Linked DNA regions of Homo sapiens: all the other regions are linked to region 2. Evidence: promoter capture Hi-C in 16 types of primary human blood cells and fetal thymus (Javierre and others, 2016). All regions are on one chromosome and are shown on one strand. Each heading gives the region's core, a stretch centred on a gene start or on the middle of the fragment in contact. The rest is flanking DNA. Distances are from core to core; before and after follow the strand shown. Region 1 has its middle 82 kb from the start of CEP162. Region 2 holds the start of SNAP91 (synaptosome associated protein 91). Region 3 has its middle 46 kb from the start of CEP162.

What was found. The method cuts DNA at HindIII sites, captures the fragments that hold promoters and counts their contacts. A CHiCAGO score of 5 or more calls a contact.
Region 1: a contact is called between a fragment that was not itself captured here and the fragment with the promoter of SNAP91 in region 2, in 1 of 17 cell types (neutrophils). The highest score is 5.1, in neutrophils.
Region 3: a contact is called between a fragment that was not itself captured here and the fragment with the promoter of SNAP91 in region 2, in 1 of 17 cell types (neutrophils). The highest score is 5.3, in neutrophils.

The regions. Positions count from the first base shown.
Region 1 is chr6:84,307,202-84,311,773 of GRCh38, reverse strand. No RefSeq gene overlaps it. Among named protein-coding and RNA genes, the nearest start is that of CEP162, 82 kb to the right of the region's middle. The HindIII fragment of the contact is 903 bases long and covers 1,268-2,170 here.
Region 2 is chr6:83,706,458-83,710,511 of GRCh38, reverse strand. It overlaps SNAP91 (synaptosome associated protein 91), which reads left to right and starts at 1,411. Exons shown (of 30, transcript NM_001242792.2): 1 at 1,411-1,667; 2 at 2,555-2,714. The coding sequence starts at 2,585. LOC105377879 (a long non-coding RNA gene) reads right to left here and starts at 1,070. Exons shown (of 3, transcript NR_136251.1): 1 at 793-1,070. RefSeq lists silencers at 1,139-1,198, 1,529-1,738, 2,148-2,442. The HindIII fragment of the contact is 3,637 bases long and covers 272-3,908 here.
Region 3 is chr6:84,272,068-84,276,097 of GRCh38, reverse strand. No RefSeq gene overlaps it. Among named protein-coding and RNA genes, the nearest start is that of CEP162, 46 kb to the right of the region's middle. The HindIII fragment of the contact is 3,112 bases long and covers 856-3,967 here.

The DNA.
Region 1 (4,572 bases), core at 470-2,969, 600 kb before region 2:
ATTCTTTTTTCTTTTATTTGAGAAAATTTACAGTGTTTAATACTTTAGGCTTGTATTTCAACGTATTTTAGAGTTTTAGAGGTTTTTACATTTTAAACCTTTTAAAGGTGTTCTTACAAACAATCTTTATGAGAAGAGTAATTTTCACAAAATGTAGTTAATTTCAGCCTTTCTTTCAGGCCTTGGAAGAAAAGCATATATTTGTCATAGGCCTGACAAAGTTTCGCTATTTCCAGCCACTTTAGGGTTTTATATGGCTGGGAGGACTGGTAGCATCCATTCTTTCTAAATTATTCCATTTCATACTAAATGAATTTTGATTTGGAATCCAAGACACATTTCCTAAGTAAAGGTATAGTTTTGGCTGACTTTTCCTCACCACACTACAACTCTCATCCCATAGCTTTCATCTCGCACTTTCCTGAATGAATTTTTTTGTATTGGAAGCCATGTCATCAAAGTTCTGATTAGCCTAAGGATGTCTTAAATCTCCTTCTTTTAAAGAAAACCTAAGCTTCCTCAAATGTAAAGCAAAGCCAAATTCAAGGGTCCAAATTCTACTGTATTATTTCATTTTAAGAGATAAAACATGGTCTTCCTTTTCTTTTAATAAGTTATTGAAAAAGTAAGCATGTAAGTGAAATGCAAGACAATTATTGATATTTTTTTAAAACTACACAATTATACTCACCAGAAATGTCAGCTAAACTTATGTTTGTGGGTAGAACTTCATTTTTTAACTTTGTTTTCCAAATTGTTTTTAATATGTTTGTATTGCTTTTATAAGAAAAACACCCATAAAATGTTCAAATAAATGTTGACATACTAACTGTTAAACTTCCTCCCGTTTTTACTGTAATCTCTTGTTCATAATTGAGATGCAGTAAAACATACCAATGTGTAGTAAGGAGAGTAAAATTCCCTGAAGACCTTTAAGGTGTTTTATTATCTAACTTTATTAATACTTTTTGTTTTTTTTTTTTTTTTTTGAAATGGAGTCTCGCTCTGTCGCCCAGGCTGGAGTGCAGTGGCGCGATCTCGGCTCACTGCAAGCTCCGCCTCCCGGGTTCACCCCATTCTCCTGCCTCAGTCTCCCGAGTAACTGGCACTACAGGCGCCTGCCACCACCCCCAGCTAATTAGTTTTTTGTATTTTTTAGTAGAGACGGGGTTTCACCGTGTTAGCCAGGATGGTCTCTATCTCCTGACCTCGTGATCCCCGCCTCGGCCTCCCAAAACTTCGTGAAGACTTTTAAGGATAAAAAGCTTATTTTCCATAAACAGGAATACTAGCTTCTTGAAGTCCTTGAGGAAAGGAATAACTTTGCTAGGAAGAAAATATTCACCGGCATCTGGAGTGCGAGACTGGATGCCCCAAACACCCACAGCTTCTGCAGGACACACGTTCTCCCAAGAGCATAGGCTGGATGGGGGTTGCTACAGGTCATCCCAGCTGCCTCTCGACCTGCCTATCACTGCTGGAAACATCTGAAGCCATCTAGGCATTTTTCCAAGTTCCAAGTCTGCTCTTAGAGGAGGAACACAGTATCCATCAAGATACCAGCTCCATGACCTCAGTATCCTCAATGACCAGAACAGAGCCTGCCATTAGTAGATATTCTATATGTATGTGTTAGATGAATGATATCGAAAAAATGTGCAGGATTTCATTCAGGGTTGTTTGTTTCTTATTTTGTTTTGTTTTTCCTTTAGTCCATGTGTGCCCATTACAAAGTAAACTCTCTTAGGGGTAAAAATACAATCTTCTCAGTATCTAGTACTCTACTGGTTCATAAGTAATTTTAAGTAATATCCAAAATTCTTAAATTTCAGGACAGTACTATAGAAATAGGTAATATGTTTAATTGCTGAAAGTTGGGACATAAACTGCCTAGTTTCCAATCCCAGCTCCACCTCATAAGTTGTATGACCTTTGGACAGGTAACTTAACTTAAAACAGAGGAAGTAACTGAACTTCCCTCATATGATAGTTGCAAGAATTAAATAACTTAAAACATGAAAAATGCTTAGAGCAAACCAAGGAAATAGTGTTTGCTTTATTATTATTAATTTATCCTAGGTTTGAAGTCTTCTAAGAAACTAGCTTCTAAGTTTTTTGTTTGTTTACTCTCAGAAAAGCACAACTTCCTGTTTCTAAGCGGGGGGAAGCTTTTTTAAAGTTATAAAAAGACTCAAAGTCTTCTTGGACATCAAATAGCTCTTACAAAACAACATTTTGATGAGTTAAGTGTAAAAGAATCAAAAACATACGGATTAAATTTCCTTTATAATACACATGGGTTTAAAGTGAAGAGAAAACTGCTTAGCAAAACATATTTTGGGTTTGCCAAACCCAAAACATTGAAAAAAGGTTCAAGACATTCTGCAGACCCAGAAGAGAACCAGGTTCCCCCACATAGTTATGTAAAATCTCCACTTATCTAGACCTCTGAACTCCAAACTGCTTCACAGCTGGTCATCTTTTGATCAATATTCTCAAAGGATCAGCTTCCTTCAATTTATGAGGAAGTATGCTGCACCTCAGAAGTAGTATATAAGCAGTTTATAATTTAAAAGACAAAGAGGTTATCATCTGCCTATGATTTTTATTTTAATATTTTATTGAAGATCTGTACCTATGCATTTGAATGCAATAATAAATGTTGCAATTAAGATGTAGGCAAATGTCTTATAATAAGTTGATATTATATTTTTCTGTTTGCAACACAACTGTGAGTAAGCAGCAACTTATACATTTAAAAGTATGATTCAGGGTAAAATTAATATTGTAAAAGTTGTTTTCTACATAAAAGTATTTTTCTAGTGTAATTTTCTTTATGAGGGTATTGATACAGCTCTGTCTGCACATGTTATCAGGATTGGAAAATATTTAATTGCCTCATCCAGATTCTCTTCACTCATGTATTAAGTCAATGAAATGTTCTGTAGCTCTATTTTAAGAAAACAAAAAAATTTCAAATTTTAGATTTCTTCTGAAACAAAAGATTTCCTAAAATGAACACCTTTACAGGTGTTTACAGAGGAGCAGGGGGGAAAAGCAGCCAGCAATACTAACTGATAGTCCAGAAAAACAGGCAGAAATCAAAAGTTCATGTTAGTGTTGATGACATGATCACATCGAGAGAAGCAGTTTTTTTAATGACAGAGGCAGATATATGGATGGCATGACCTACTTTTTTTCCTGCTAAGCCCTGCTTGAGTATTTCCTATAGTAACCTAGATCCAATATCATGAAACTTACCGTATTGGTTAATAAGTCTGTCTGTAAATAAAATATTAGGATAAAATAGAAAGAATTTAATGTTTTGGAGTATATTTTAAATTGAAATTGGAGGGTGGCAAAACTAGCTCAAAACACATTTCTCTATCTTGAAATGCATTACTTTTGAAAAATTTTTTCTTAGCCACCTAACTAAAAAGATACTAACTTTAAAGATATTGTTCCCTTTGTAACAGCAGCCTAAGGAATGTGGGTGGTCCCTTTCTTTAAAAACTGTCAGATTCTCTTTGAGTAGAAAGTTTACTGCTAAAAGAACCCTTTTAAGAATGAAGTGTTGATCTTATATGCATGCACACATATTGTCTCATTTTTATGACTACTTAAAAAATTTGAGGCCAGAGTGACAAATTGAAAAAATGGGAGCTAATTAAACTGAAGAGCTTCTGCACAGCAAAAGAAACTGTCAACAGAGTAAACAGATACCTACAGAATGGTAGAAAATTTTTTCAAATTATGCATCTGACAAAGGTCTAATATCCAGCATCTATAAGGAACTTAAATACATTTACAAGAAAAAAACAACCCCATTAAAAAGTGGGCAAAAGACATGAACAGACAATTTTCTAAAGAAGACATACATGCAGCCAACAAGCAAATGAAAAAAGCTCAACATCACTGATGACTAGAGAAATGCAAATCAAAATCACAGTGAGATACCATCTCACACAGGTCAGAATGGCTATTATTAAAAAGTCAAAAAATAACAGATGCTGGCAAGGTTGTGGAGAAAAAGGAACACTTATACACCATTGATGAGAGTTTTTAAATTAGTTCAACCATTGTGGAAAGCAGTGTGGCAATTCCTCAAAGAACTAAAAGCAGAACTACCATTTGACCCAGCAATCCCATTGCTGGGTATATATCCAAAAGAATGTAAATTGTTCTTTTATAAGGACACATGCACGTGTATGTTCGTTGCAGCACTATTCACAATAGCAAAGACATGAAATCAACCTAAATGCCCATCAGTGGAAGACTGGGTAAAGAGAATGTAGTGCCTATAGACCATGGAATACTACGCAGTCATAAAAAAAACAGGATCATATCCTTTGCAGGGATGTAGATGGAGCTGGAGGCTCCTTAGCAAACTAATGCAGTAACAGAAAACCAAATACTGCATGTTTTCACTTATAAGTGGAAGCTAACTGATGAAAACACATGGACAAATAGAGGGGAACAACAGACACTTGGGCCCATTGGAGGGTGGAGGGTGGGAGGAGGGAGAAGATCAAGAAAAATAACTAATGGATACTAGGCTTAATACTTGGGTGA
Region 2 (4,054 bases), core at 162-2,661:
AATGAATTTGAGATTCATGAATGGTATTAGTTTGTTTCTTGTTATTGCTAAGTAGTATTCCATTATGTGGATATACCATATTTTGTTTATTCATTTACTAGTAGAATAACATTTGGCTTTCCTCCAGTTTGGGGCCATTATATTAAGCTGCTATAAAACTGGAGTACAAGTTTTTTTAATAGAATTGCGTTTTTATTTCCCTTGTAAATATGGTAAGACTAGTACTTGAGACAATAGTGCTCTTAAGCTGTCTCTCTTTAGTCATTAAGCTTCCAATTAGTCCTAGAATCAGTCTCAGTAGTTAGGAAATCATGACTGCATACTGAACACTGTACCAGGTGAAAGAGAGGAATATATAACAAAACGTTGAGATCGATAGGTATCGATATATGGCTTCAAGGCCGAGCAGAAGCCACCCGAAGCAAGGAGAAAAAATGCCAGGAAAGCTCACAAATATAGTTTTGATCTTCATGCTACTGTGAGAATTAAAAAAAAAGGTGAACATAAATAACAACCTTTGAAAATGTCAACACGTGAAGCTATTAACCAACTCCACATCCCTGTTTAGAAATTCCTGCTTACTATTCGAATATACACTTGACATACAATTGACGGACGTTCCAACACTATATTTAATTGGCAGAAATTACTTCTTAAGGGTACAAAGGGTTTTCTTTATGCACGCAAATGATTACTGTCGAAGGTAATCTGGGACTCGATTAACGGCTGTGTTAATTATTCTCCCTTCAGCAGACCTCAGTATCCGTTTAAGACTAAAGTGGCTAGAATTACCTGCCCACCCGGGCTCCCAGTTGTAACTGAGACAAGCGGAGGAGCCTGAGGAGCTGAAGACGCACAGGTGACGGTCGCGGATGGCCGGCAGGATCTGACATTTAAAATCGCCCTGCTCATCTGGGCCTCGGAGCCTTTGACAGGCGGGCGTGTCAGCGACAGTGTGGGGAAGGGGCTGGGCTCCGCCAGGCAGCGCGCGACGACGCCCTTGCCTTGGCCTTCACAGAGTAGAACCCGAGAAGCCCACTCGCCCGTCTTGGCCAACGCCCCCAACGCCCAGGGCTCCCCCCGCAGTCGGCGGGCAGGTGTGCGTGGTGCGCGAGCCCAGTGCGTGCCGGGTGCGGCGCCAGCAGCGGAGGGGCGGCCCGGCGCCCAGCGGAGAGCCGCTGGCTGGGTGGGTGTCGGCCTCCCCGCCTCCTTCTTCTCCCCGCCGGCTTGCCGGGGATGCTTGCGCGAGGCGCCCCCTCGCCTTTAAGCTCCCGGCCCCGGGGGGCGGTGTGTGTGAGTAGCTGGGAGGGGGCCGCGAGGCGCTCCGCCGAGGGCTCGTCCGGGTTTGTCCGCCGCCGTCACCTGACTCGTCGGAGGAGCCACAGCTGAGGTGGGGGCGGGGATGGGGACGCAGCTCGGAGCGCTAGAGAGACGCGGCGGCGCTGGCAGAAGAGGCGGCGGCGGGCGGGTACTGGCTTCTGGGGCCAGGGGCCAGGGGCGGTGGGCGCCGGGACCGCGGAGCTGAGGAGCGGGGCCCGGCCAGGGCTGGAGACTTTGCGCCCGGGGGCACCGGGGCTACGCGCGGTCGCACACATCCACCGGCGCGGCTTCCCTCGGCGGCCCGGGCTCCGCTCATCCTGCGGCGGGCGGCGCCGCTCAGGGGCGGGGTGAGTACCCGCGGCCGTACTCGGCCCCCTCCCCGCGCCAGGGTCTCGCGGGGATCCGCAGAGGATAATCCCAGGGTGCGGAGAAGGGCAGCGGCCGAGTGACAGCTCCGCGGAGCGCTCCAGGGCGGGCGGGGGACTGGGCTTCGCTGTCAGCCCGGCTCCTCTCCAAAGCCAGGAAGGGTGAGGCGCCCCAAGACTCCGGCGCCTCCGCAGAGCTCCCGGGCGGCCCCTGCGGCAGGGATTTGGAACCGGGGGGAAGGGGCCCGGGCGATGGGCCTCGGCGAGGCTTTGGAGCCGGCGGCGAGGAAGGAAGGGGAGGCGAGGGCATAACATGGCGCAACGCTAGGATAATCTCCTTCGCGACTGAGGGAGGACGAGCCCTTTGCTGCAGCAGCGCGAGGAGGAGGAGGGAGGCAGCCAGGGCTTGGGTATCCGATGCATTCCCCGAAGCCTGCGGGCTGCTAGGAGGAAAGTCTGCTGAGGTGGGAGATGGGCACCGGTGGGTGCGGCGCCCAGGGAATAACCCCAACGCACGTTGTGGCTAGTCCAGCACCCGCGGGTCAGGTTGCGGGGAAAGTGCTGATTGACAGGGGGGTCCCCAGGGGGTGAGTCTGGCCCTATGTGGGGGCCGGGGGAGAATGGGGACGGTGTCACGATGCTGCGACTGGAGCCCACGCTGGGGTTCCGTGACGGCCCTACTCACGGCCAAGACTCCCTGGACCGCATCGCAGGAGCGGGGCTTGGCGCGTTGCTGGCTCCGAGAGGTGGTGCCAGGGTGGGGATGGAGGAGGAGAGAGCCGCCGCGCGGCTGGAGGAGGCAAGGCCTGGGTGCTTGGAGGGTAGGGTCTGCGGATTAAAGCCGGACCGTCTCCCCTTGTTTCCTGCAGAAGAGGAGGCGGTAGACGCGACCACAGAAGATGTCGGGCCAAACGCTCACGGATCGGATCGCCGCCGCTCAGTACAGCGTTACAGGCTCTGCTGTAGCAAGAGCGGTCTGCAAAGCCACTACTCATGAAGTAATGGGCCCCAAGAAAAAGCACCTGGACTGTAAGCATCTCTTTATATAAGAGGGACATGCGCACGGCAGAGGCGCCTGGGATGCTGGTGGTGCGGCCTGCGCTCTTGGTCCATAATGCTGTGGCCTCTGATACTCCCAGCCAGGTTGCCCCTGAGCTGAAATTCTTCAGCTGTGAAGGTGTTCCCTTGGGTTAGCCATGAAACCTTGTCTTGTGAGCCATTTTTTCCTCTTATTGACCTCCAAGGTCTTGGTGGAGGGGGAAAAATACACACACACACACACACACACACGCATATGTATATACACACACACAAGAGAGAGATTGTACACACTGAATTAGATGTTTTTCACCTTTTTTTCTTTCTCCACCCACCCTCCCTTCTCCAAATTAGAGGAAATTAGAGGTTGCACAGTCAAAAAAAAAAAAGATGAATTTATGGAAGGTCAAACTTGTCACCCTAGTTCTTTCCTAAATACATTTCAGATAGTTCTAAGGTAGTATAATCTTTTTAAGTGTTGCTCCTGAGGATTGTTTTTGTGAGTATGGGTGTGTGTGTGTGTGTGTGAGGTATGTTACCATACCAAACTGAAATAAATTCAAGGTACTGAATGAGGAAATTGGACTTCATAGCTATGGCAATTTCATTTTACACATCCTGGCACACTTTGTCCCATTCTCAGAAAATGCTGGGTGAGATGACTATGCTATGGTCACAAAATGGATGTACTTCCCCAGCATCTGAGATGGTGCAATTTTAGATGAAACCGTTTAATTCTTAATATTATTTTTGTAACTGGTTATTTGATGGAAAAGGCTTTATTCTACTCTGGAATCTATATATTTCTGAAATACCTTAATTAACAGTAAATCTTTTGTCACCGAAGGATAAACAGAGGCACTTAGAAAAGAAAAAGGCTTTCACCTGCTTTGGGTGGTGAGGTTTCTCATAAGTCAGGCTATATGAGTGTATGTTCAGCAGTTGCTATTTAGTTCTCTTGACCTGCTTAGGATCTTCTGTTCTATTGTGATGTTTTTGGTAAAGGTGAATGTTGGCATGAGAGACACAGGTATGGCCACAGCCATTTCCTCAGCTGGCTTCCTTTGCCCATCTTCTGGGTTTTTTTGGTCTTGGGTCTTTTTCCTGCTATTTCCTTTGTGCAGCTAAGAAAATGGCACCAGTGTCAGAATTCACTCTAGCCCTATTATCTGCATAAGCGAAGCTTGATGAAGCTTACAACTGGACATTGTAAGAGTTGTCCAGCCTTGTGAACCTGTTGTCTCATAGAATTGAATAATTTTGTTTCTAGAAGCTCATCGGAGGGGAAAGTACCATTATGCCTTTCCCAAGGGAATGTTTAACTAAATTTA
Region 3 (4,030 bases), core at 1,162-3,661, 560 kb before region 2:
CAGGCAATTCTAATGAGCAGCCATGGTTGAAAACCACTCTAATGGCCAGGGCTTCACAAATTGAGAAATGTTCCAAATAATCCCACATTTAAAGAGTAACTGCAATGTCTTGGGTTATATGGTACAGATAGTTACTTACCCTTCCTCTATAGTCCCATTCCCTGCTTTCTTGGAATAAGTAAAGTGACTGATTTTTAAATGTTGTTCACTAAAAAAAAATATTTAAATCACTACAACATGGAATACCCCCAAACTTTCAATGATGCACTTAGATTTTACTTTAAGTTGATTTTGAGCAACTTTTTATCTAGGAAAAAAAATAAATAATTTTACAAGCCTAAAGGACACAGAAAACATAATGTGCAACTCTCTTTTATTGCCTCTGATATATAGAGGACTTCCATGACACTAATCTGAAAAATGTTTGTACTCCCTAGAAAACATCACACATGCACATATGGGAATTCTAAATAAATTGTGGTAATATAATTCAATAGAGTAAGACCACACAGAGATGTTTTGGAAAGCCATTTATACAAATAAATTAGCATGATTCTTGAGTCAGTAGGTAATATACCTCTGAGCTTCCTGGGCTTGTGCACCAGAATGAAATTAGCTCCTGTAGAAGTCATCTATATGATAACAGCCAAGCCCCTTAACATGGTTTAGAAGATCCTTTGTGTTGTGGCTCCTGCCTACCCCTGGTTCCTAACCAGCCTCCTCACTTGCCCCATCTACTCTCACCCTCCACTCTCAGTTCTCCCTAATCCAAGACACCAATGTGGCCAATGCTGCCCTCATCCCAACGTGCCATTACTTATTTATATTCCTGTCTCCATCACTAGACCTTAAGCTTCTTGGGGGATGATCCCATGTCTTATACATTTTCTTATCTCTATCGTCTGGAACATAGTAGAGCCTTAGAAGACCTTTGACCTGTTGAAGTGATTAGACTCCAAAATCCAGGCTCTTTCTATAAAATAGGACCTTTTCTGAGGTCAGTCAGGGAAGGTTGGAATGACGATAACTGTCTTAATCATCCTCAGCTAAGGGTGTGACTCAAATATCCAGACCCTGAGTAAATTTGTTAAATAAAGCAAAGAAAGAAAGGAACATCATAAAAAGTGACCAGTTATGTCTTCAGACAGCACTGGTATGTTAAAGTAGCTGAAGTTAATTTATATCATTAAATTTGGCATTTTTAAAACATTTTCTTGGTGGAGGAAATTTAAAGAATCATTATGCTTTAATCTACTTTGAAAACTGTTTAGTATTAGTCCGTTTCATCTCTTTCATTTCTTCCAGAGAAGAAGAACTAGGGTATATGTACAGGTTTACCCCAAAACACTCAGGCCCTATCTTATTTTGAATATTCTAGTATTCATTTAGCTTGACTTGTTTATCTTAAATCATAGTCAGGATGGTTTTTTAACTTATAATTACTCACTTGCAAACAGCTTGTAACAACAAGCACCTACGTAGCACCTCTACTCCCATCCATGGCAAAGACTGCTAGCTGACCACCAAAACTATTTCTTCTTCCTCCTAGGAAAGCAACAAGACTATACTTTCTAATCCTTTGCAGTTTGATGCGCTCACATGACACTAGCCAATAATCTATGAGTAGAAGTGATATGAGCCCCTTCTAGGTTTGACCAATGAAAATCTCCCACACACAATCCTACAATGGTACTTTTTCTTTTCTCTTCCACCAGCTTGATGCCAAGCAGTGAAGCCAGCCAGAGCCACATGATGAAAAAAGTCTCCATCACCCAAACACCTTTAAAAGAAAACAAGAAAGCTCCTTTCTTCACATGAGTGTGAGCAAGCACTAAACCTCTACAGTGCCAAGCAACTGAGATTTAGGTACAATGCCAGTACCCAATCCCATTCTCGTTCTCTTTCTGATCGAGCTTCCCACAATGTTGATGCAGAAATGGATGGTGAAGTTGCCACTGTTATCCAGGAGAATCAGCACTACTGAGCCCTCACTACTCCGACTCCGGGAACTGGTTGCTCACCACGGAAGCATCCTCCACCTAGGCTCTCCCTGATTCCTGAACCCTTGCCCTGCCCATCAGCAAACTGATCACCGCAGGAACTCTGTCTACGCACTCCTCATTAGGGTTTGGTGGTGGGCAAGTGCAGAAGAGGATAAAGAGAACATTTTTGAGCATCCATTATGTGTGTAGTATGCCATATGCTCCTTATACATCCTCTCATCTTGAACATCACCAAACCCCATCAGGAAAATATCAGTATCCTCACTCTGCGTAAGTGGAAACTTAACACTCACATAGTTTACCAGCTGGTAAGTGGCAGAATCTAGATTCAAACTCACTCTACTGACTATAAACCCAGTGATGGTTCAACTCACCGCAAAGTCCTCCTGCACTGACACACACCCATCCTACCTCCCTGCTGTCATCTTAGGATCTCCCTTGGAGTGAGGCTTCTGGAGAGGACAGTGTGGGAGCCTCTCTTTGGAAGCCAAGTCTTTTCACTGAGACCAGAGTGGGTGGAGGATGTGTAACTGGCCTCTACATTTAAAATTTGGAACACATTTTTTCCATGGGAAAAATATGCAAAGATGTTCCATTTTTCAAAATGTATGCAAAACCACTTTGTAAACCATCAAGAGGTACATAATATGCCTATAAGGAATTACTATTCTGCAGTACATTAGCACTATAATTCCAACACGTTGTGGATTAAATAACCTTTTGTGAAGTAGTTGGAGAATTTAACCACTGAGTGTTACATTGTCTCAAAGGAAAAATACATTCCAATAGCTAAACAACTGACTTACAACAGATTTTTGGAACCCAATCCGTTCATAAACTGGGAACTGCCTGGATTAGCATGAAGAGGACACATCATCACCATCTTCATCAAGTATTATTTATTAAGGGCAGAGCATGGGGTGAGGGCTTCAGGGTAAAAGAAAAAAAGAAGGGAAGTGTTAATCTAATTTTTTAAATGGCTACAATTCCACATCCCTGGTTGTGAATGAACTCAAGCTGTTCCAAAACAACCCTCTCATCTTTCTCCTTACTTCCTTCCCCATTTCACTTATCTTTTGCTCTCTTTTCTATTTTCCTCTTACCATTGTATATGTTTTTGTCCATATTCCACATTTATTCTCGTGTTAAATAAACTCATTTCACCACATCCTTGCCAGCATTTGTTTTTGCCTGTTTAATCAGTAATAACTGTACATTTTAAAATAACTTGAAGAGTACAATTGGATCATTTGCAACTCAATGGATAAATGATCGAGGGGACGGATACCCCCATTCTTCTTGATGTGTTTATTTCACATTGCATGCCTGTACATAACATCTCATGTACCTACAAAAATTAAAAATTTTAAAAATTTAAAAATAAAATATATTTAAAAATAAAAAACAAACTCTTTTCAAGGACTATGTTCTCAGGCTCTGCAATAGAGTCTAGAAATACCAAGATGAACAAAATATAGTCCTCAGTGAACTCTTAGACCAGTAGAAGAGGTGAGCCTGAAAACAAACAAAATTTCCTCAGGTGTGATAAGAACAAGCATCTATGTAGGGAGTTAAGAGAGTGTAGTATGGGCAGATACCAAAGGAGAAATTCCAGTTTCCTTTTTGCTCATCTCACACTTTCATGTCCTCTCCCTCCCTTTCCTCCTGCCACACCAGTTTAAATCTTCATTACTTCTCAACCACCCTAAAATCATTCCCTAGCTTTTGTCACTCCCTACTGTAATCCAGTGAATATACTGTCACCAGATCAATGTTTCTTTGGGACAATGTATCGTGCCCACTACATATCCCACTGACACTTTTTGGTCACAGAATTTTATAATTCCTCACATTGCATTTGGAGGCCCTACAAGGCCTCTATAGCCCATCCCTACACAAAACCCTCTTGCTTGTATCCTGTTAGTTAGTCAAATTGAACTGCATGTCATTCCCCCAAACAAGCTTCTTTCCTTAAGCCTTTGCTGTTCTGTCTTTCTCTACAGTGTCCTTCAAATTATTAGTGTGAA